Linked DNA regions of Homo sapiens: all the other regions are linked to region 7. Evidence: promoter capture Hi-C in 16 types of primary human blood cells and fetal thymus (Javierre and others, 2016). All regions are on one chromosome and are shown on one strand. Each heading gives the region's core, a stretch centred on a gene start or on the middle of the fragment in contact. The rest is flanking DNA. Distances are from core to core; before and after follow the strand shown.

Region 1 (3,216 bases), core at 680-3,179, 1.2 Mb before region 7:
AAATTTTACCTTTTGTGACATTTTTGTGTTGATTAAAACACTGTGGATTCAGGCCCTGTACTCTAGATTATTTTGCCTGGGTTACCATTCCTAACATTTATACCAAATTATAGTATTTACATGCATATTACATGGGTAGAAATGGAAGAGATAAACTCTGCATACTGTAAAATCCACTGTTAAGTGATATTTTATTTTATATTAATAGCAATTTCAAATTCAAATTTAATGTTATTAATACCAGTTCATAAAGTTCTGAATTAGCAGGCCAAATATTAATAAATTATCTCTGAATACCAGATACATTAGCTTTTCTAATAATAGACAGTGGTATCAGCCATTTACCCTTTTTCCCAAGGTACCAGTCACTCTCTCTTTGATTATGAATCCCTTGAGTAAACAAATTCAGGGGTCCTCATTCTCAAAATACATGTATTCATTATTAATATTATCATGAGTCTGTAGTTTCAGTAGATCTTTTTAAACTACTTGGTCCATTTTTTGAGGGTTGGCTTAATTAAAACTGTATTAATCTACAAAATCCAATCAATAGATACTCATAAATGATAGTGTAACACAATGCCCTGTAAGTGGCCAAGGGAAAGTGGGTGCCACTGTCAGTCAGTCATAGAGTAACTTCCTCTCAGTTTCAGAATACATCACATTCTATTCATGACTTGTGACCATTTGAAACAAGGATGGAATAAGTAACTGGTGTCAGTCTGTAAGATTTGTATAACTACCACAGAGCCAAGATACAAATATTAATAAATCACAATTTCTCTTTTATTTTTGTTGAGAAATGAGTATAAGTAGAAATCTAACATTTTCTTCCCACACCCCAGCAGATACTCTGGCACCCAAATTTGCAGCTCGCTGGAAATTCTACAGCCTCCTCAAGGGGGATTGCTAACTCCTGGAAAAAAAATCATAAAATATACAGTGAGCACTTCTCTCCCTTGTCTCCATGATCACAAGCCCCCATATTATATTATGCTGCAGAGAGGCCTGGTAACTGCTTTAAACTGCATAATTTTCAGAAAAAGTTACCTTTTTTACAGATTAAAAGATTAAGTTTCTCTAGGGGACAGGCCTCTGTGTATGCCAGAGAAAGTAATGTTCCACGTCAGCTTTTTGTGTTTCTTTTGGTTTCCTGTATTGCATTATTTAGGGTGGGATTTATCTTGAAGTGCCCTCCCCCAACCTCACAAAATTCATTGAGAAAACTCAAGATGTATCATAAACAGTCTAAAATATTTTGAACCACTCCCCCTGCCAGATTGATCACTGAACTATAAGCTGACGCATTTGCAGAAAAACTTCTCAAGAACAGTTTTGTACTTTCAGTAGAAGCAGTCTTTTTCATAGCATTTAGAAAAATGTGGTATGGTGCCTGGTGATTCATCGTGGATCTTCCCAAATTGCCTGATCTTCCAAAGTATGTTCATTCTCCTGGGAAGCCACATTAACTTTTATGTTCAGAAAACATTTATTTTAAGAAAACTCAGATGGATATTATTTGAGTACTATGAAAAATAAAATGTTATGTTTTAAATGTGTCTGTTCTATACAGTTTTAGAAACAAAAATGAGTGTCCCTTCCACAAAAACAAAACAAAAGGCTAATTTTATAAGCTGGAATGCAGATAAATTAATTATATGATTAAATGTATGATAAATTAATGCTTAGTCAATAAATACAATATGATCATAATTTGTAACTGATGCAGTGATTATAATGTATGATTTTATAGTAATAGAAAAATTAAAATACAAATTTTGAATGAATGCCTTGGTATTTACTAGAAAAAAACTGTCTGTAATTTTGTGTGTATTTGTGTGTACTCAAATTACCTGATTAAGACATAGAATGAGGAGGTGGATGTGGGTGTAAGTATATGACTCTGGCTATATACAGATACAAAGTAATTGAGATTTGTGTCAGCTGAAGAAAGACCCAAAACCATGTAGTTGCATGACCAATATAAACTAAAAGGAAGTATTGGTGCCATAAAGTTATCATAATTTTCTCTATAAAGTGAGGAAAGTAAGACACAAAAATGTTAAACCCTATCAAATTGGTGCTATTTTATAAAAATGAGCATATGTTTTAACCTTAGTTTATACTGTATTTCCTCATGGAATATTTAACTTTCTAAGTGTGAAACATAGTGAAATTTGGACTAATTTCATTTTCTTTCTTTTCACATATATATGAAGAAAACTGAATATCCTGATGTTGCTTGGCCATTGAGATTTCGCATCCTGCATGAAATTGCCCTTGGTGTAAATTACCTGCACAATATGACTCCTCCTTTACTTCATCATGACTTGAAGACTCAGAATATCTTATTGGACAATGAATTTCATGTTAAGGTAATTACTTTTTTAAAAAGTTTATGTTTCCTTGTCCTTATAGTTTTAAAAATACTTTTTAGTTATTTCTTCGACCTAGCCAATTTCATGTCTCTCCTTAGAGATAGAGACTAATGAATAGTAATTTCCATAGCCCCTAATTTCTATCTTCTATTCTCCTTCTTCCTACTGCAGTTAGGAAGTTATTCCTAGACAGAGATAGAATTATGGTACAAAATACAAAGCCATTATGTTTCTTAATTGAATTGTCAAGATCACCTTTTTTTTTTACTTTTTATTTTAAAATTATTATATATTTATAGGAAGTTGCAAAGGTAATAAAGAGGTTTCATGTATCCTTCACCTGGTTTCCCACATTGTTATATCACACATAATTATAGTATAATTTCAAGACCAGGAATTTGACATTAGTACAATGTGTGTTCATAGTAACCGCAACAATCAAGGTACAGCACTACTCATAACATCACCACAAAGATAACACTCATCCTACCTCACCCACTTCCTCCCTACCACAATCTGTACCCCTAACAACCACTAATCTGCTTTCCATCTCTTTAATTTTGTCATTTTGAAAATGCTATATAAGTGGAATCATATAGTATGTGATATTTTGAGATTGGCTTTGTTCACGTCACATAATGCTCTTGTGATCCGTCTAAGTTGTGCTTGTAACAATAGTTGTTTTTTATTGATAAGTAGTATTCCACAGTATAAATGTACCAAAGTTAACCATTCAGGAACATTTTGGTTCTTTCCATTTTGGGGTAATTATTTACAAAGCTGCTGTGAACAAAGCTGTACAGGTTTATGAGTGAACATAAGTCTTCATTACTCTGTG
Region 2 (3,268 bases), core at 603-3,102, 1.1 Mb before region 7:
TTCCTAAATTTATTTTAAATGGTTGGTATTATTTTGAATTGTGTTCACTAATACAATGTAACAAAAATGTTTTAAAATACAATGATAAATAAGTTTAAGCAGATTTTAAATGAGTTAGTGAAAGCACCGGAGTATTTCTGCCATTTTCTTTAAGGAAACTATGCTTATTTTGGAATTGTGATAGACATTTCCTCTTTGAGTAAAGACAGGGTCATGCTGTGTCACCCAAGCTGGAGTGCGGCTGCACAATCATAGCTTGCTGTAACCATGAACTCCTGGGCACAAGGGATTCTCCTGCCTCAGCTTCCCAAGTAGCTGGGATTACAGGCATGTGACATCATGCCTGGCTAATTTTTTTGTTTAAGTTTAGTTTTTGTAGAGACAGAATCTTGCTGTATTGTCCAGACTGGTCTCAAACTCCTGGCTTTGAGTGATCCTCCTGCCTCGGCCTCCCAAAGTGCTGGGATTACAGGCATGAGCCACCACACCCGACCATCAACACATTTTTATTACACTAAGCATTTGGTTACATTTCTTTCCAGTTTCAGCTTTTGTTTTGAATAACCTAAAAGTGCTTCTCACAAGGCAAAAATAACATCCCATGTTAAGTTCCATAGAGAATATCACTTTGGATGCTGCAAGCTTTTGCCTTTTTAAAAACATTAGAAGTTGTAATGGATGAAAAGAAGCCAGAAAAGGAGACTGAGAAGAGCCAGAAATGTAAGAGGGAAATCAAGAGCATGTAGTATGGATGAAGCCAGGAAGGAGTTTCAAAGAAGAGAAAGAGTGATTATAGAAGAACCAGGGAGATAGGTGCTTGCTACACATTCCCACCTGATGACTTCACTTCCCCTCCTCTCCTGAACCCTTTCTCTATGCCTGAAAGCACAGTCAGTTCTCCCCTGGCTACCAGTAACCTCCTTCGTTCAGAACGGCCGGGCGGGGTGGCTCACGCCTGTAATCCCAGTGCTTTGGGAGGCCAAGGCGGGTGGATCACGAGGTCAGGAGTTCAAGACCAGCCTGGTCAACATGGTGAAACCCCGTCTCTACTAAAAACTACAAAAATTAGCTGGGCGTGGTGGTGGGCGCCTGTGGTCCCGGCTACTCAGGAGGCTGAGGCAGAAGAACCGCTTGAACCTGGGAGGCGGGGGTTGCAGTGAGCTGCGATTGCGTCACTGCACTCCAGCCTGGGCAACAGGGCGAGACACCATCTCAAAAAAAAAAAAAAAATTGTTATGAACATGGGAGGCTAAGAACACCATTCCTATTGGGGGAAAAAAAAAGAAAATGGGAAGGAAATGTAAGTGTAATAGCATATCTGAAAGAGCTTTGGAATCTATAGGACACTGTGTACATGATGGAAGTCAGAGGAAATGTCTGCTGGTCTAGATTACACAGATGTACCTTTCAGTGGAAAAGAGTTATAACAACATGGGTCAGACGTGACAGTGAATCCACCATCTTAGCAGGAGGAACTATTACATGTGAAACAGTTCACCAGCAAATTCTTCATAATTTGCTATTCATACTGCCTGTATTTCATCACCAATGATTCACTCCTTATTCTCTGACCTTTAGTTTCCCCTTCTGCCTTAATGCCCTTGTGCTGTGAATGTTGTGCAGAGTTCTTTCAAAAGCTCAGATTTTAAATGGACAGGTACAAAAATTTGTAGCAGAGATATAAAATAAAAAACAAATTGAGAGTCATGTCTGGACCTCTATGAATAATGCTAGGATGCCAAATCTTTAAATGAGTTCATGAAGCCAGGAGTTCAAGGTAAGCCTGGGAAACTTAATGAGATCCTCACTTCTATAAAATAATAAAAAATAAAAAAAATTAGTGAGGCATGGTGCCGCGCACCTGAAGTCTCAGCTACTCAGAAGGCTGAGGCAGGAGGATTCCTTGAGTCCAGGAGTTTGAGACTGCAGTGAGCCATGACTGCATCAGTGCACTCCAGCCTGAGTGACACAGCAAGACCCCATCCCTAAAAATAAATAAATAAATGAGTTTAGACTTGAGAAAGCAATTAATGTTGAGAAATAATGAAGACAAGAAGGATTTCTTATCATTAGTGATGGTGGCGCAATGTTTAACAGGTGAAAATAAACACTTGGAACTACACAACTTCTGTCTGATCCTCTTCTTTTCTATCAAGAAAAATAATTTCAATGAAAACTTTCAGCACTTGGAAAAGATAAAACAAGCACATTTAAGAAAGACCCAAAGTTCATTTGATAGATGAGGAATATTAATTCCATTTAGTTATTTTCATTGTTCAAGAGAAATACTTTTCAGAGCACTAAAAGGAGTTGTCCATGTCAGCACACGTCTGTTCTCAGTAATCTTTTAAAAATTTCAGAGAGGGATCTAAGCATGATCTAATGTAAGAACAGAAAAAAAATTCTGTCTTCTAAAATGCACACACTGGACAAGGTTGCTGTGATTCCCAGTGCAGCTTTCTAGTAATTGGTTACCATGGAAAGGAGTAAGTGGCTTCCTGATACAGCTGGCTGACTGGATGCATGCATTTACCTTTCTTCCCAAATCCCATAGAAATGTCAGGAGAGTAAAATTAAGTAAAAATAAATCTCCATAAATTTTAGAAAATTCAGAAGGGGTTATTGGAGTATATTGAAGAATTTCTGGAATATATTGATGCTGAAATATAACAGAGCTAAGCAACCCATGAATCCAGACCCATGAACAAGAACTTTAAAAATAAAAGATTGCCCAGCAGAATTCTGCAAAAGTCTCACAATCAAAATAAACAGGCTGGATGGAAAAAGTAAGCCCTGGGCAGGGGCCAGGCAAAAAGTAAAAGCAGAGCTGGTCCTCATGCCACCTAAGGTCCGCTGCTGATGTGTGCTCCAGGCTGTACATAGTGAGAGCTTCTGTGTAAAAGATTCTCAAGATGGACACTCAGTCCAGAGAGTTAGGGCCTCACCACCAGCTAATGATAGCTGCATATTCTGTAAACAAACCATACTAACATCTTAAAGAAAAGCCCACCTTCTCTCTGCCACACGTAGCTGCTTGAGTCAGAGCTGGTTTAATCCAAACTTAAGCTTCTAGCCATGCAAACAAGAATTCTTTATTTTATTTACTTATTTTTAACTTGTATTTTAGGTTCAGTGGTACACGTGCAGGTTTGTTACACAGGTAAACTCGTGTCATGGGGGTTTGTTGTACAGATTGTTTCATCACCAGGTACTAAGCCAAGTACCCAGTAGTCTCTTTTTCTGATCTTCTCCCTCCTCCCACCCTCCA
Region 3 (3,471 bases), core at 360-2,859, 1.1 Mb before region 7:
TTATGTCTTGAGAGCTCAGCTTTGTGACTAGTGAAAATATTATCTCTGGTCTCTGCCAGCCATTGGGGGTGCAAGTTGTTAGGCTTGCATCAGGCAGCTCAGCTAGCCCGCTGGCTAGGAGTCAAAAACACAAACTGTCTCTTACTGTGACTGACAATGCCATCTCTCAGGGGAATTTGTCTTAACTGTCTCTACCTTCCATGCCTTGTTAACAATGGAGGTCTTGGCTTTCTTAGGCTATTTTTGGGAGTAACTTTGGATCTTGAGGTGGACTGCATCTTTTGCACCCTCTTTGGAACATGCTCTTGCATCTAGGATGAAAAGACTTACTGATTTTAAGCCATAAAAAAAGCTTATTGGTTTTTAGTCAAAATTAAAGTAGGTATAATTAGATTATGTAGTAGATTTGCTTTTTCTTAACTAAAAGTATTTTTATGGATAGCTCTCATTCCAGAAACAAACAAAAAACCACCAAAACTGTCCTATTGGTACCTATGGGAAGATATGGTTTAAAGCAAGAAAATAAGTGCTTACATAAATAAAATATTATCTCAGGACAAATAAAAACTAACTTAAATGTTCTTTAAGGTCATGTGATCTGAGATAATCCTTCGGTTAAAAAAACGCTAGTTTAAGGTTAGTGGTTTAATTAAAGCAGGCATACCTTCAGAATTGTCAACATTAAATATAATGCATACAACTTATTCTACCTGGATTTACTAATCAAAAATCTTACATATGTTTAAGATTGTAAAATTATAAATTCAATCTAAGAATAAAATGTACAATAAAAGTAAATTACCTAATGTATGTCAAGCATGACAGTAAAAGAGAAAAAGGAAAGGCTGAATGTTTAACTTTGTAGGTGCTTTATTTCGATAGTGTTTAATACTTGCCTAATATATATAGATAAGGATAAAAATGATCAGCAAAACAATAAGTTAATGATGAGATGCAATGTCTCACGAAGTTTTCATGAACAATCCAAGTATAATTGTTAAAACAAAGTAAATTAATAAATGTTAATGTAAATAGAATAACAGTTTATAAATAAACTTTTCAACACTGATACGTTTTATAAGCTATGTCTATCTAAACGTAGTTTCCAGAATCTTTTTGGTGACTTAAAACCTTAAGTTATATTAACTGAAATGATGGATATTCATGGAATGTCTAGATCATTTCCAAGTAAAATATAATACTCAAACATTAACTGCTGAAAATAAGTTTAAGCTTGTTTATGTTTGACTTATTGTTACAGAGGAACAAAAAATATTTGGGTCTATTAATAAACATGTCCTGTGCCACACTGACAAATTGTGCTATAAGATAGCATATATTTCCAGAAATTAAGAAATAATGTATTCACTGATTTATGAAAGACAATGCTTGCTTCCGAGTTCTCACCAGAAACCGAAGTCATTAGGAGTTAAGAATCTAATTAATGTATATACTCAAAGTTACTAGAAATAATAGGGGAAACAACTTTGTATACAAAGTACACAAGGAAAATAGACATTTTTGGTAAGAAAAGTTATAAGATATGAAAGATGTATTTTTGTTATGGAAAGAGTAATTTTGTTTTAGTTTAGAGCTATTTCAAAGGTTGTTTCAGAAAGAATCAATGAATGAAGGATAAAAACTGAAAGGATACAGAAAGTCAAAAAGAGAACAAAAGAGGAAATCTTATATAATCAAGCTGAGTAAATTGAATGAATTTACTACAAGATTTTTTAGAATAAGCCTTAATATAAGGAGTAAACTGACTCAAAACTAGAATTTGGTCTTCTCTATTAAAAGAACAAAGTTTTCTTGGGGATTAGTCTGACGTTGATAAGAAAACTATAAAACCATTTTACTTTATCTTTTAAATAATTTGCCTAGAAAACAAAGATTTTGTGTTTTACCAAAATAATTTCTTGTGCTTCATGTTGTCTTTTATCAGGTCTCAATAATTTTAAAAAACTGAGCCCTGTTAAAGAAGCTAAGCTTTTCCCTACAACCTTTTTTAAGTTTCCATATTTGCCTTTAAAATCTTTTGTTACTCTGGTATGGTTTCACAGTTAATTGTGATCCTCTTTTATCAAGTGTTTAAACATTTTGACATTTTTGACAACTTTCTGAAATCAAATTTTTCTTTTCTTTTTTCTTTTGAGAAGGAGTCTCGCTCTATCGCCCAGGCTGAAGTGCAGTGGCGCAATCTCAGCTCACTGCAACTTCTGCCTCGGGGTTTAAGGATTCTCCTGCCTCAGCCTCCCAAGTAGCAGAGATTACAGGTGTCCACCACCACACCCAGCTAATTTTTGTATTTTAGTATAGACGGGGTTTCACCATGTTGGCCAGGGTGGTCTCGAACTCCTGACCTGAAGTGATCCACCTGCCTCAGCCTCCCAAAGTGCTGGGATTACAGGCGTGAGCCACTGCACCCAGCCAGAAGTGTTCAAAATGGGACCCTGAAATGTCTGAAAAGCATTTATCCTCTCACCTTATAAAAAGAGAGATCCTAAACTAATTAGACTTATTTGGGATGCTGAACGTACATGGGATGCACTGTTAAATAAGAGATTATATTTAACCCTTCTTTGAGCTATATTTGTTATGTTATTAATATGACTATTTCCAAAATACTCATATTACTAGATCATGAGTTCTTCTGGTTTCCTCTAATATTTGACTACAACTCTCCAAATTAATATTTCCAAATTTCTCCCATCCTTCTGACTTGAAATCTCTAAAAAATTAAAATTGCCCTTTTCCTAAGACCCTGAAAGCTGAAACTGGACAACCTAATATAAACTTCAGAGAAATCATTCTATGAGATCATGTGTGAACAACTTTCATGCCTGCTGCTATATAGATCACTTAGAAAGTTCATCAGCACACCCAATGGCATTACCAGAGATATTCAGACTACAAACCAGGAAATTCATCACAATTGCCACTACTTGTACTCACTCCTCTATCTAAAGATGCTTAAAAGCCCAACATCTAAACATCTTCTCAACTGACTGCCCACTGGACTAAAAAAATGGGTTTACAACTTGCTCCAACTATTATACTTTTTCCTTTTTTTTCCCCCCAAAGAAATGCCTCTTATATAGCACTTGTTTGCTTACATCATCTAGAGGTCTAACTTAGATGGGAGCCCACCTACAACATTGCCTCCTAATATGAGATACAACTGCTTAACCGGACTGAACTATTCTCGTAACTAAGACTGATCCATTAAGATTTGGGACAATATACTTAGAATTGTTATCTTCTGCTTGTTCCAATTAATGTTCTTCTCTCCCTTTGCAGATATTTTGCTACTCATTTGATTTCTCTCTTCACAGCTAGCGACTCAGCTTTTAATATGTGAAACTTCTAGGGAAGTTCCCGATGGAGGAAAATGGAGTTAAAATACTGACTATTTAAGTTAAAGGCATTGGAAAAACAGTAGCTGTACTCTGACCTTTGTGCTGTTTCTTA
Region 4 (3,664 bases), core at 1,127-3,626, 1.3 Mb before region 7:
AGAGCAACACAAAAACAAAATGAGAGCATTGATAAAAAAAGATAGAAAGTAATAAAAAGTACCGAACAAAAGTTATAGACTGAAGAATACTATAACTGAACCCTAACTAAAAAATTCAGCAGAGGGGTTGAGTAGCAGACTAATCAAGCAGAAGGAAAGATCAATGAACTTGAAGACAGATCACCAGAAATCATTCACTCTCAGGAACAAAAAGAAAAAATAATGAAAAAGAGTAAAGATAGGTTACATAAGGTCAGGCGCAGTGGCTTATGCCTGTAATCCCAGCACTTTGGGAAGTCGAAGTGGGCAGATCACCTGAGGTCAGGAGTTTGAGACCAGCTACAACATGATGCAACCCCATCTCTACTAAAATACAAAATTATCCAGGCACTGTGGTAGGCGCCTGTAATCCCAGCTACTCGGGAGGCTGAGACAGGAGAATTGCTTGAATCCGGGAGACGGAGCGAGATCACACCATTGCATTCCAGCCTGGGCTACAGAGCAGGACTCTGTCCCAAAAAAAAAAAAAAAAAAAAAAAAAAGATAGGTTACATATTATCAGTGTACAAGAAGGAGACTAGAGAAGGAAAGAAACCGAAAACATATTCAAAGAAATCGTAGCAGAAAAATTCCCAAGACTGGAGAAGAAAAGAGAAAGCCAGATCCAGGAAGCACAAAATACACCAAATAAGATGAATCAAAAGAGACCCACACCAAGCTATATCGTAATCAAATTGTTGAAAGCTAAAAGCAAATGCAGTGTTAAAAGCAGCAAGGGAAAAGTGAACATCATTTATAAGGGAACCACCATGCAACTATCAATGGATTTCTCAGCAGAAACCTTGCAGGCCAGAAGAGTATAGAATGATAGATGCAAAATCCAGAAAGAAAAAACACTGCCAGTCAAGTATATTATACCAAGCAATCCTATTTTTCAAAATGAAGAGGTGATAAATACTTTCTCAGACAAAAAAAGATGAGAGAGTTTATCACCACTAGACTTGTGTTAAAATGTCAAGGGAGTTCTTCAAGCTGAAGAGGACACTAGTTAGTAATACGAAAACATATGAAAGTATAAAACCCGGTAATAAAAACAACTACACTGTCAAAACCAAAACACTGCCACTGTTATGGCAGTGGGTAAATCCATTATATCTCTAGTATAAAGGTTAAAAGACAAAGCTATTAAAAACAACTAAAGCTGCAGTAATTTGTTGAGGAATACAAATTATAAAAAGATGAAAGTGAGACATCAAAAACATAAAATGTGAGAGGAAGGGGAGTAAAAGTTTAAAGTTTTATATGTGATCAAAATTTAGTTGTTTCCAAGATAAATACCACATTATAAGATGATTTATGTAAGCCTCAGGATAATCACAAAGCAAAAGCCTATATTTGATATACAAAAGATAAAAAGAAAAGATCCAAAGCATACTACAGCAGAAAGCCATCAGGCCACAAAGGAAGAAAGCAACAGAGAAAAGCAGAAACAAAGGATTTACAAAACAACCAGAAAATGATTAACAAAATGGCACTAGTAAGTCTTCACCTACCGATAATTACTTTGAATGTAAATGGACTAAATTTTTCAATCAAAATGCACAGAGCAAATGTCTGCACTAAAAAAATAAGACCCAACTGTATGCCGTCTACAATTCACATCATCTTAAAGGATACTCATAGAATGAAAATGAAGAGAGGGAAAAATATATTTCATTCAAATAGAAAACAAAAGACAGCAGGGGTAGGTATACTTATTTCAGAAAAAAATAGACTTTAAGTCAAAACTGTAAAAAGAGACAAGGTCATTATACTGTGGTAAAGGGTTTAATTCATTAAAAGGAGCAAACAATTGTAAATATATATATGTAAATATATACATAAATGTGTGTGTGTGTGTGCACCCAATAGCAGAGCATCTAAATATATAAGGCAGGCCGGGCATGGTGGCTCATGACTATAATCCCAGCACTTTTGGAGGCCAAGGCAGGAGGATTACTTGAGCCCAGGAGTTCAAGACCAGGATGGGCAACATAGGGAGAGCCCAACTCTACAAAAAATTTAAAAATTAGCCAGGTATGGTAGTGTACACCTGTGGTCCCAGCTGTTTGCTTGGGCCTGGGAGGTCAGGGCTGCAGTGAGCTGTGATTGTGCCACTGCATTCCAGTCTGGGCAACAGGGCAAAATCCTGCCAAAAAATAAAAAAAGATGGAGAAATAAAGCAAACATTAAGAGATCTGAAAGGAAACACACTGCAACACAATAATAGGATATTTCAATACCCCACTTACAACAAAAGACAGATCACCCAGAAATAAAATCAATAAGGAAACACTGGATTTGAACTATACTTTAGACCAAATGGGCATAATAGACATGTACTTGACATGCCACCCAACAGCAATGGAATACACATTCTTCTCAAGTGGATGCAGAATATTCTCCCAGATATATCATGTGTTAAGCCACAAAGAAAACTTAACAAATTTAAAAGTATCAAAATCATATCAAGTATTTTTTCCAACCAAAATGGCATAAAACTAGAAGTAAATAACAGGAGAAATCAGGAAAATTGCCAGCTGTATGGAAAGTAAACAATATGCTCCTGAACAACTATTTGGTCAAAGAAATTAAAAGGGAAATTTTAAAATGGAAACACTAAGTCAAAAATGGAAACACAACATGCCAAAATTTATGGTGGTAGCAAAAGCAGTTCTAAGAGCGAATTTCATAGCAGTAAATCCCTACCTCAAAAAAATGGAAAACTGCAAATAAACAAACTAATATTCCACCCCAAGAACTAGTAAAAGAATAACAAACTAAGCCCAAAGTTAGAAGAAGAAAAAAATAAGAAAGATCAGGGCAAAAGTAAATAAAATCGAGACTAGAAAAGTTATACAAAAGATGAATGAAACTAAGAGGTTTTTTTCTGAAAAGGTAAACAAAATTGACAAACCATTAGCTAGACTAAGAAAAAAAGGGAGAAGACTCAACCAAAACTCATTTCAAAAATGAAAGAGGAGACATTGCAACTTATTACACAAAAACAGAAAGCATCATAAGAGACTAATATAAACAATCATATACAAACAAATTCGACAACATACAAAAAATTAATAAATTCCTTGAAACAAATAGCCTACTGTATTAGTCCGTTTTCACGCTGCTGATAAAAGACATACCCGAGACTGGGCAATTTACAAAAGAAAGAGAAGTTTAATGGACTTACAGTTCCACGTGGCTGAGGAGGCCTCACAATCATGGCAGAAGGCAAGGAGCAAGTCCCGTCTTACATGGATGGCAGCAGGCAAAGAGAGAGAGAGCTTGTGCAGGGGAACTCCCCTTTTAAAAACCATTAGATCTCATGAGACTTATTCACTATCATGAGAACAGTGCAGAAAAGACCTGCCCCCATAATTCAATCTCCTCCCACCAGGTTCCTCCCACAACATATGCGAATTGTGGGAGTTACAATTCAAGATGAGATTTGGGTGGGGACACAACCAAACCATATCACCTAGCAAGACAGAATCATAAAGAAATCAGAAATCTGAACAGACCAATAATGAGCAAAGAGATTGAATTAGTAGTCAAAAATGTCCCATCAAGGAAAAGCCCAGACCCAAATGGCTTCATGGTTGAATGCTACCAAACATTTAAAGAA
Region 5 (3,301 bases), core at 201-2,700, 1.3 Mb before region 7:
ACCCAAATGTCCATCGATGATAGACTGGATTAAGAAAATGTGGCACATATACACCATGGAATACTATGCAGCCATAAAAAATGATGAGTTCATATCCTTTGTAGGGACATGGATGAAGCTGGAAACCATCATTCTCAGCAAACTATCACAAGCACAAAAAAACCAAACACTGCATGTTCTCACTCACAGGTGGGAATTGAACAATGAGAACACATGGACACAGGAAGGGGAACATCACACACCAGAGCCTGTTGTGGGGTGGGGTGGGGAGGAAGGATAGCATGAGGAGATATACCTAATGTTAAATGACGAGTTACTGGGTGCAGCACAACAACATGGCACATCTATACATATGTAACTAACCTGCACATTGTGCGCAAGTACCCTAAAACTGAAAGTATAATAATAATAAATAAATAAAAGATGTCGAAAGGGGTTGCAGTTATCTAAACACTTTACTGGTGCTGCAAAATTTGCTTCCAAGATGGCTCACTCACGTAACTGGGAAGTTGATGCTGGGTCTTGGCTGGAGACTTCAGTTTCTCTCCATGTAAACTCTCTGTAGATGTGAGCATCCTCAGGACATGGCAGTTGGGTTTTCCTCAGAGGAGCAATGCAAAAAGGAGCAAGTTGGAAGCTCCAATATCTTTTTGACCTAGGCTTAAAATCCATACATTGTCAGTTCTCCATATTCTATTCTTTACAGAGTTTGGCCCTATGCCATGCAGGATGAGACTATATTAGAGTTGAACAGTAGAATGCAGAGACTGTTGGGGAGCATCTTAGAAGCTGCTTAACACAACTATGGTAAGTTACAGTGTCCTTATCATATACCTTACTTCTATATATGTTATAAAGCCAACAGTACATTATTTCTATTTTGCTTTAAGCAGTCAATTATCTGTTAAAGAGACTTAAAAACTAAGAAAATTAAGTATTTTTCATGTATCCATATATTTATGATTTCTGGCATTTTTTATTCCTATGTGAATACACAAGTTTCCATCTGGCATCATTTTCCTTCTGCCTGAATAACTTCCCTTAATATTTCTTATATTTAGTTTGCTGACAATGAATTTTACCTCTTTTGTTTGTCTGGAGAATTGTTTATTCACCTTTATTTTTAAAAAATCAAAAACCTGGACATAGAATTCTAGATTGACAGGTTTTTTTTCTTTCAACACTTGGAGGACTGTCATCCAGTTTGTGTAGTTTCTGATGAGAAGTTTCTGTTGAGACAGTGCCTTTTTTTTTTCCTCTGGCTGCTATTATGATTTTTCTCTTTATCAAAACTGGTTTTCTAAAATTCAATTACAATGTGTATTGGTGTGATTTTCTTAGGATGCTTTTCCGTCTTAGGATTCTTTGAGTTTCTAGGATCTATGAGTTTATACTTTTCATGACAGTTGGACAAACATTTGGCCATTATGTCTTCTCTTTTTACACTCCTCCACCTTGCTTCAGTGGTTCCAATTATATTAGATCTCCTGACTTTGTTCCTGAGGTCACTGATGCTCTGTTCATTTTTCTATTAGTCATTTTTCTCCCTGAGCTTCATTTTTGATAGATTCTATTGCTCCTTCAATTTCACTCATCTTTTCTTCTGCAGTATCTAATCAGCTGTTGATCCCGTTCAATCTATTCATTTCAGAGATGAAATGAAGAATCTATTGTATTTTTCATCTCTATAACTTTGATTTGTCTTCTTCTATTATCTATATCTCTCTTCATCATGCTCATGCTTCCCTATACCTTACTCATGATGTGAAGCATATTTACAATAGACAATTTTAGTCATTACATCACCTCTGTCATTTCTGGTGCTGTTTCTATTTATTGACATTTTTCTTCTGATTATGGGTTAGGTTTCTTATTCTTTCTACTGTCTGGTAAATGTTTTATTGCTTTGCGACATTGAAACCTCACTTAATAGGGTGGTAGATTTTGTTGTAACCCTTCTAGTAGTCTTAGGCTTTGTTCTAGCACGCAGTTATGTTACTTAGTAGCAGTCTACCTCTTTTGAGGCTTGTTAGGGAAATCCAGAGTATATTTTAGTCCAGGGCTAATTTAGCCTCACTACTAACTTCACTACTGAGGTATTCTTCTGAGGATTCTATTCAATGCCCCTATATAATACAGTGTAATAAGGTCTTTCCACTCTAACTGATGGGAACACAAACTCTTCCCAGCCTTAAGTGAGCTTCAGGAATTATTTGGCTTATTGCCTCCCAGCAGTTCTTACCCCTGCCAGGGGTATCTTTCTCTCTCACATGCACATACCAAGGCTCAAGGGACCCCTTTGTGATCTCTGGGTATATTCTCTCTTATCTCTCTCTCTCTCTCTTCACCAACCCCCCCCCCCCACCCAAAATCTCTATCCACTTTAGTCTCCATGAACTCTAATTTCTAATCCCTCCACTAAGGTAGACTGCCAGGATCTGTTCGAGGTTTCCCTCTGATATGGTTTGGCTCTGTGTCCCCACCTAAATCTTATCTCAAATTGTAATCCCCCATGTGTCAAGAAAGGGACTTGGTGGGAGGTGACTGGATCATGTGGGCAGTTTTCCCTATGCTGTTCTTGTGATAGTGAGGGAGTTCTCATGAGATCTGACGGTTTAAAAGCGGCAGTTTCCCCTGCACTTTTGCTCTCTCTGTCTCTCTCTCTCTCTCTCTGTCTCTCTCTCTCTCCTGCCACCTCTTAAAGACATGCCTTGCTTCCCCTTCACCTTCCACCATGATTGTAAGTTTCCTGAGGCCTCCCCAGCCATGAGGAACTGTGAGTCAATTAAACCTCTTTCCTTTTTAAATTACCCAGTTTCAGGTCATTCTTTATAGCAGCGTGAAAACAGACTAATAAACCCTCCATCTATTAAAGCTCGAAAACTGCCTCTAGGTGGCAAGCCAAGCTGAGGTAATAATAAGGTTCAATTTGTTTATTATGCCTGAAAACATTGTTTTGTCCAATTTTCTATTTGTTTGAGGTACACAGTAAATGTAGTCTCTGTCATCCCATTATAGCCAGAGCAGAAATGATCTCCAGAAATCTTTTTTAAATGTCAAATTACTTGCTGGATACCTCTTTTTACAAATATAGGAAGATACCTCTACTTCCAAATATAAGACGCATATGAAACTTAACATATATAAAGTTTAACTCTGCTCTCCTCTGCATGCCCTGAATCAAGTAAACCTGCCCCTTCTTTCATGTTCCCCGTGTCAGTAAATGGCAACTCAATCATTCCCATTGTTTGGACCAAAATTTCAAAATTTCTCTTTCACACTTAATAGCTAAACCATCAGC
Region 6 (3,565 bases), core at 334-2,833, 1.2 Mb before region 7:
TTTATATGCTGGATTACGTTTATTGATTTTCATATGTCGAACCAGCCTTGCATTCCAGGGTTGAAGCCCACTTGAACATGGTGGATAAGCTTTTTGATGTGCTGCTGGATTTGGTTTGCCAGTATTTTATTGAGGATTTTTGCATTGATGTTCATCAGGGATATTGGTCTAAAATTCTCTTTTTTTGTTGTGTCTCTGTCAGGCTTTGGTATCAGGATGATGTTGGCCTCATAAAATGAGTTAGGGAGGATTCCCTCTTTTTCTATTGATTGGAATCGTTTCAGAAGGAATGGTACCAGCTCCTCCTTGTACCTCTGGTAGAATTCGACTGTGAATCTGTCTGGTCCTGGACTTTTTTTGGTTGGTAGTCTATTAATGATTGCCTCAATTTCGGAGCCTGTTATTGGTCTATTCAGGGATTCAACTTCTTCCTGGTTTAGTCTTGGGAAGGGGGTATGTGTCCAGGAACTTATCCATTTCTTCTAGATTGAAACACTATTTTTTCACCAAACGTGTATTGAACTCTTGGAGGAGAAAAAAATAGAGAAGAAGTATTCTTGCCCTCAAGGAGATCAGATTAGGGATAAAAGAAGAAAACAAAAACAAAAACAACCAAATATAATGTACCTGTCTACTAGGAACAATCAGGCCTTAGGAGCTGGAAAATCTTCACCAAATCCAATATGGAAATTAGAAAGAAAGTGGCATTCTGACCCTCAGTTCTGTAAACTCAAACACAGATTTTGGCACTAGGCTGATAATAAACTTTTTTAATAAAATCAGAATGCAATGCCATTTTTAAGGGCAAGTAATAGAACTGCTGCTGGGCCTCCATAATTTCTTGGGGAATACCTTCTCTTCTAGTAGTCAGATTTGTGCTCAAGCCTAAATTGTAAATAAAGGAACATAGATAGGGGGCGTCTAGTCATCTTCCCAACAGAAATACTGTAAATGGGGCTTTAGACTTGAGTATTTGCCCAAGAAATGCATGAATGGATACTACAAGGATAACTTCTCTGACCTTCTGCCACCAATTTTAATTAGCTCATTCTTTAGGTATGTTAATACTTCCTAGAAAACTAGCTGTTTTTCAAATTATAAACTATTTCATATGTACAGAATATAACAAGGATTTCATGTACCACACACATAAGGTGTTAATATTTTACCATATTTGTTTCCAGAGTTTTTTTTTTTTTTTTTGAGACAGGGTCTCGCTTTGGCACCAAGGCTGGAGTGCCATGGCATGATCATAGCACACTGCAGCCTTGAACTTCTGGCCTCAAGCAATCCCCCTGCCTCAGCCTCCCTAAGTGCTGGGATTACAGATGTGCACCACTATGCCAGCCTCTTTCAGATTTTAAGAAATAAAACACTATAAATAGAAGGAAAGCTTCATCTCCTTATCTTTCTCTCATCATCACCACCTTTTTTCTCCTCAGTTTAAACAACTATCCTAAGGTAAATATGAATCATTTCCAAGTACTTTTTACAAATCTGACTACATATGAATATATCCATACATAATTATGTCATTTCATAAATGGTACTACACTGTTCATATCCATTTGCAACTTGAGGTTTTCTCTCAACTTACTGGATGCGTTGAGGCACATCCATATCTCTATGTCTTGCTGCATTTGCCATAGTGCACACAGCAGAAAAGTGGACGAAGCTGAACTCTACCTCAGGAGGGGAGTAGACTATTTCTTTAAGACAACTGCAAATCTCTCCTCTAATCCTTCATGTCATGACTTTTTCCCCACTCTTCCAGTAAGCTTTTATTATCACTTAAGTCATGATTCAGGGTCCCACGATGAGCTCCATGTACCCAAGTCCCCCTTTATCACCCTGGGAGAAGGACTTAGGACCGAGGAAAAGTGGGGCAGAACTCATTCTCATCTTTCCAGGAATTGTGGCTTCTGCCCCGTGGTCACCCCAGGTTAAGACCCAGAATATGATGCTGGGGGATTTGTACACATTCCCACTACCATTTGCACCCAGAGACATCACTCTCTTCAGACATCATTACCTTTCCACAGTGGTAGAAATCTGGGTAGTTCTGCCAGCAGTTCCTGAACTGGCTCTGGTTGGGGAAGCAGCTGTCAAAAGCGGCAGTTCTGTAGTTCTTGACATGGGTCTCGATATATTCTGCTATGTTGCTAACTCCTAAAGATGCCCCTGAGATACCTCTCAGCTCAGTGTGACCCTCAGCAAAGACTATCATGATTTTTTAATTTACTGGGCAGAGAGAAATCTTATTATCAAACTCTTGAAAGAAATAGCATTTTTGTCAATGGTACTATTCACACAAGTAACACTTGCAAAAGGTCAGGGAAAATGAGTTGTGTACATTAATAGCCAGGAAAAGATTAAAATTGAAAAGATGGCCCTACATGTCTTGGGAAAATTTTCTTCAAACTACTGATGTGTGAAACATTTTTAGAATGTTGTTGTGTTTGAAAAAGCTCATTGAAAATACCTGGAGAAATTTTTGAAAGGCAAAGAGTTAGAAAATGAACTAACGTGATATAAAGTTAAAAAGCTTTTGCTGAGCAAAGGATACAGTCAACAAAGTGAAGAGACAACCCACAGAATAGGAGAAAATATTTGCAAACTACCCCTATGATATCCAAGTTGTAAGACAAACTCCTCTTTACTCTTCCCTCTCCTCTCCCCAAGCAAAAGAAAGAACTCTCTTCTGGGGCTGTGAGCTGTGCTGCCTTGGTATGCGGGGAGGGGTGACACACACACTCCCTTGGCCACCTGGGCTGGTGTCTCACTAGGTCATATGCCTGCCAAATCTACTGACTCTGCGCCCAGCACAGCACCAGGACTTGCCCAGGAATCACAGTTCTTGCGGCTTAGACTACCTTTCAACTTTATTTAGGACCCAGAGCGCTTTAGTCCACAGTGCCGAGGCTTGCCAGAACACAGGTTCTGACTACTGGGATAGGCTACCCGCTCTGGATAGGGCTGGTCTAAATGCTCCCTCCATGGGTGGTGGCTGAGTTCTGTCCCGTGTTGCTTTTCACTGTGACAAGGTAGCACCGAGTTCCAATGCAAAGTCCACAGATGCTGCATTCTCCCACCCCCAAGGGCACAGGCTGTCTTTGTACCATGTGGCCGCTGCTGAGGAATGCTGGAAGAGCATTGTCAGCAATTTAAGGCTGTCTTTCTTATCCTATTCAGTGCCTCTTTGGGTAATGTGAGGTTAAAACCAGGTACTATGATCATGCACCTGCTTGTTTGTCATGAAGGTGCTTTTTGTGTAGATAGTTGTTAAAGTTGGTGTTCCTGCAGGGAAGACTATTGGTGGAGGCTTCTATTCAGCCATCTTGCTCAGCCTCCACAAATGCTTTCTGTGAATTTTTTTAAAGCAGTCAGACATAGAGAGAATAAAACAGTGATTACCAGGGTTGGAGTGTGGGATAGGAATTGGGAAGATATTAGGCCAAAGGATACAAATTAGCAAATATATACGATGAACAAATGGAAAGATCTAATATACAATGTGAGGACTATAGTCAATAATAGAATGTTATATTCAGGATTTTTTCTAAAT
Region 7 (3,554 bases), core at 1,053-3,552:
AACTCCATAAACCAAAACCTAATTCTCAGTTTAGTTAAAAATAATAAAGACTTAACTGCACTACAAAGTCATTATACAAAACAAATTCAGTCTTAAACTCTAATGCCTGCTTCATCCATGGAATGTAGAGATCAAAAAGTTTCCCTTGAAGCTACTGGTGCTACCTAGAGTAGCCATGTATCATATCAACGATTCAAAGCACAGTTACAAAATAAACAGAATTCTGCCTACAACATTGGGTAGCAAGTAGTGGGCCTATCATAAGGTTGTAAAATGTAAATTTAAAAATGTAAATGTATAGTTTTGTGGTATAAATGTTTTTTAAAGGATATTTTGATCCAATGTCTCCAAAAAAACTTTCTATTAATACATACTGAGAAATGGTTGCTGAATAGTTTTTTTCAAGATCACACACACTTAACAAATCATCTTTAAAGACCAAGTTGTATGAATAGAATATTGGTAAATCAGTTAGTTATTTACAGTTGCTATTCTACACCTGGCAATACTAACTATATCTTAGGTTCCTTTTCTTTTTAAAAAATTTACCTAAGTATGAATCTTCAGGCCTTATCAGTCCTGATATTACCAGTAAACCTAGAATTGTCTAAAATACAATGGGATAATAAGCAGATACATTGACCACTTTGGCCAAAATCTTATTAATCTTATTTTTTAATTAAGATGCCTTTTTAAGGTCCTACTACATACTAAATATAATTTCATTTAATTTTGAGCCATATATGAACGGTGGAAGAAAATTATTATTAGTCCCACTTCACAGATAAGAAACCTGAGGCTCAGAAAAATAAGAGACATGCCCAAGTCCACATAGCTACTAAGTGCTAGATATTAGGATTTGACTACAAAGTTCACACCTTTATATCAAAACTTGCCTATTTGTTACATAAAAGAAAGATATCTGACTGTCCATTTATTACATGTGGACACTGCGTGTATAGATTTAAAAATTAATGTGAAAAGTAACATTTATTTATAAGGCCATGCAGAATAAATTGGTATATGCTAATAATATCCATTTCTTCAATTTACCATTTTTCTTAGAATACTAAATAAATTAGGGAGTACTGTGCTTTCCTCACGCTACAGACATGGTATACTGCCATACTAACCATAGATCACAGCATATGAAATATACTATGCACTGTTTTTAGAAGCTGAGTACTATACTTAAACTCCAATATAAATTCTAGTCTTCTTTGGAAAGTACTGATGCTACCGCTGCCGTTGAGAAATAAGATCATATAAAGTGAAATAATGAAATGAAAAGACCATATTTGAATTTACCTTGTGTATAATTCCCATATGATAACCAGATAAAATTTCATCTCAATTTCCAACTTCAAAACATTACAAAGTTAGGATTCCTTGAAACCCAATACTGCTTGTAAGTAAACTGCTCACACTGACAAAATGATAGATGAAGAGAAACATACAGGAAACATCGGGGAGTAAGAAATAAACCACCTATGACTCAAGTGGTGAAAGACATTTCACGTTCCATATATCTGGTTGCACTATTAAGGAAAAATTAAAACGAAAATATCAAAAAACTAGAAGCTTGGAGAGTTCCAACATATCTTCCATTTCATGCCTTCTCTTTATAACTAATTTAATTTTTTTTTTGGTCTATTTGAGGGATTTCTCAAAACAAAACACAATTTAACATTCGGATGGGCTAAAGCTGTCCAGGTAATAGGTGTCTGTGATTACTTTAGTCATGTAACTGTCCTTTCCGTAGCTTTGACTAAAACACCAGCAATGAAAACCTTGTGCCACCGGGTGGAGGGGGCAAATCGTCTTGAAAGCCTCCCACCGCCTGGCACCAGGTGCTGGGGCAGAGCCAAGGGGAGCTGTGTACTTAGCTCCTTTTTTGGCGATGGCTTTGGTCTCGGCCACTTGCCCCTCCGTCGGGCTCCCCTGGCCCCCTACACTTTCTTTCCCCTCATCCGACGCTCTCGCTCCCATCCCACTCCCATTCAGGGTCCACAGGGTACTGAAGGGGCCCTGAGAGATTTCCCGACCCACCTCAGAGCTTCTCTTCCTCGCCTCAACTTTCCCGGGGTCGGGCCTGGGAGACGGCGCCCACCCGCCTCCTCCACACCACGGGGCCCGACTTCCGTCCCCCAGTGTCGCTCATCCTCCCTAGCCACTTACCGACTCAAAATCCACGGGGATTTCGGGGCAGCAGCGTCGCCGCGCTCAGCCCACACGCGGAGGCCGAGCGCCCTGCTGCCCGTCGGGGAACGGCTCCTGCCGCTGGTCCGCTGGCTGACCGCGGTGGCGGCGGCGGGGGGCGAGGGGCGGGGGGCGAGGGGCGGGGGGCGGGGCGGGAGGCGGCTCCGAGGGGCACGAGGCGGGCCCAGGGCGGGCGCGGGGCGTGGCCTCGGGCGCTGAGCCTCGAGAGCAGCCGCACCCCTGCCGGGGTAGAACCGTTAAAAGGGTGGCGCGCGCTTTCCCGGGCGAGCTGGGCGCGTGGGGTTGGAGCGGCGCCACCCAGAGCCGGTCGTCTAGGGTAGGAGGCCGCGAGTGAGGCGCTGACAGGCTAGCCCTCGACGGGGCGCGCCCGCGTGAACGGCCTTGGGGGCCCCAGACCGTGGCCCTGCTTGTGCGAAGACTGGGAGGCGCCAGGCGGGCCGCCTGCTGGGGGCTTGGCGGCGGGTTCCAGGCAGCGTCTGTGAGGGAGGCCGCCTCTGTGAGGGAGGCCGCCGTCGTGCTGACGACTGAGTCCACCCTACTCCTGTCCCCCGTCAGAGCTGCTGGCAGGCGCTGCTTTCCCCTTGGTGCATTTAGTGGGTGTCGGGATTCGGGTTGGCAGGGAGGAAGATGTTTGAGACCTGGTTTACCTCAGACCAGGGATACAGCGTTTCACACAGACTGCCATCCTGAAAGGAACAAAATGAATTAAGGCAACTCCATCCGAATCATTTCTTTTTAATCTTCACCTTCAATCCTTTTGCTAATTTTTCATTATCTTTGAGTGTCCCCAGAGGGGGACTGTCTGCTTGTACTGAGGGACGTGGAGGTGGCAGTCCCTCACGTCCCCAAGCACCAAAAGGACAGTTGAAAATGCACTGGCAAACACTGAACGGTTTTAAGTGGGGCACTATCAGGATTTACCATTTTGGAAGGTATGAAGTTTCACAAGCACTTCCATGTATAGTCAAGTTATTGGAGCTGTCTCCGTTTAGAAATGGCTTCCAGAAACACTCCTACTATCCACTGAGACAACTCGCCTGGCATCAGAGACCTAGGGTCCAGGGTCAGAGATGGGTCATGATAAAAGGGCATCCCTTGGGGTGAGGCACCAGAAGTCTGCACAGTGGAATCAATATATTCCAACCACCAGATGTAGAAAATCTTAAGTGCAGGATGTGGTTCTCATCCATCTAGTCACAACAGAAGTTTTCTTCTTCAGGAATATACTTAACAATGAAGCATGTATAATTTTATATACATCTTACAATAAAATTATTTTGTGCATATCACTGTATGAAGTCAGTAGAAACTATTGTGACAAAAATGTAAATTGG

What was found. The method cuts DNA at HindIII sites, captures the fragments that hold promoters and counts their contacts. A CHiCAGO score of 5 or more calls a contact.
Region 1: a contact is called between a fragment that was not itself captured here and the fragment with the promoter of C8orf88 in region 7, in 2 of 17 cell types (fetal thymus and total B cells). The highest score is 6.3, in fetal thymus.
Region 2: a contact is called between a fragment that was not itself captured here and the fragment with the promoter of C8orf88 in region 7, in 5 of 17 cell types (naive B cells, total CD8 T cells, naive CD4 T cells and 2 more). The highest score is 8.3, in naive B cells.
Region 3: a fragment that was not itself captured here is called in contact with the fragment with the promoter of C8orf88 in region 7 in 8 of 17 cell types (total B cells, total CD4 T cells, naive CD4 T cells and 5 more); the score reaches 12.6 in total B cells.
Region 4: a fragment that was not itself captured here is called in contact with the fragment with the promoter of C8orf88 in region 7 in 1 of 17 cell types (total B cells); the score reaches 6.0 in total B cells.
Region 5: a fragment that was not itself captured here is called in contact with the fragment with the promoter of C8orf88 in region 7 in 1 of 17 cell types (total B cells); the score reaches 5.6 in total B cells.
Region 6: a contact is called between a fragment that was not itself captured here and the fragment with the promoter of C8orf88 in region 7, in 1 of 17 cell types (total B cells). The highest score is 6.2, in total B cells.

The regions. Positions count from the first base shown.
Region 1 is chr8:89,763,122-89,766,337 of GRCh38, forward strand. RIPK2 (receptor interacting serine/threonine kinase 2) reads left to right here. Exons shown (of 11, transcript NM_003821.6): 3 at 2,220-2,375. Among named protein-coding and RNA genes, the nearest start is that of RIPK2, 6.9 kb to the left of the region's middle. The HindIII fragment of the contact is 7,997 bases long and covers 1-3,216 here.
Region 2 is chr8:89,840,291-89,843,558 of GRCh38, forward strand. No RefSeq gene overlaps it. Among named protein-coding and RNA genes, the nearest start is that of OSGIN2, 61 kb to the right of the region's middle. The HindIII fragment of the contact is 2,424 bases long and covers 641-3,064 here.
Region 3 is chr8:89,862,148-89,865,618 of GRCh38, forward strand. No RefSeq gene overlaps it. Among named protein-coding and RNA genes, the nearest start is that of OSGIN2, 39 kb to the right of the region's middle. The HindIII fragment of the contact is 756 bases long and covers 1,232-1,987 here.
Region 4 is chr8:89,731,083-89,734,746 of GRCh38, forward strand. The region is part of intron 1 of PARAIL (palmitic acid regulated anti-inflammatory lncRNA); the gene reads right to left. Among named protein-coding and RNA genes, the nearest start is that of PARAIL, 25 kb to the right of the region's middle. The HindIII fragment of the contact is 9,223 bases long and covers 1-3,664 here.
Region 5 is chr8:89,713,927-89,717,227 of GRCh38, forward strand. No RefSeq gene overlaps it. Among named protein-coding and RNA genes, the nearest start is that of PARAIL, 42 kb to the right of the region's middle. The HindIII fragment of the contact is 6,818 bases long and covers 1-3,301 here.
Region 6 is chr8:89,821,643-89,825,207 of GRCh38, forward strand. It overlaps the pseudogene COX6B1P6. Among named protein-coding and RNA genes, the nearest start is that of RIPK2, 66 kb to the left of the region's middle. The HindIII fragment of the contact is 385 bases long and covers 1,392-1,776 here.
Region 7 is chr8:90,982,936-90,986,489 of GRCh38, forward strand. It overlaps C8orf88 (chromosome 8 open reading frame 88), which reads right to left and starts at 2,303. Exons shown (of 6, transcript NM_001190972.2): 1 at 2,179-2,303. RefSeq lists a silencer at 2,327-2,486. The HindIII fragment of the contact is 2,363 bases long and covers 1,580-3,554 here.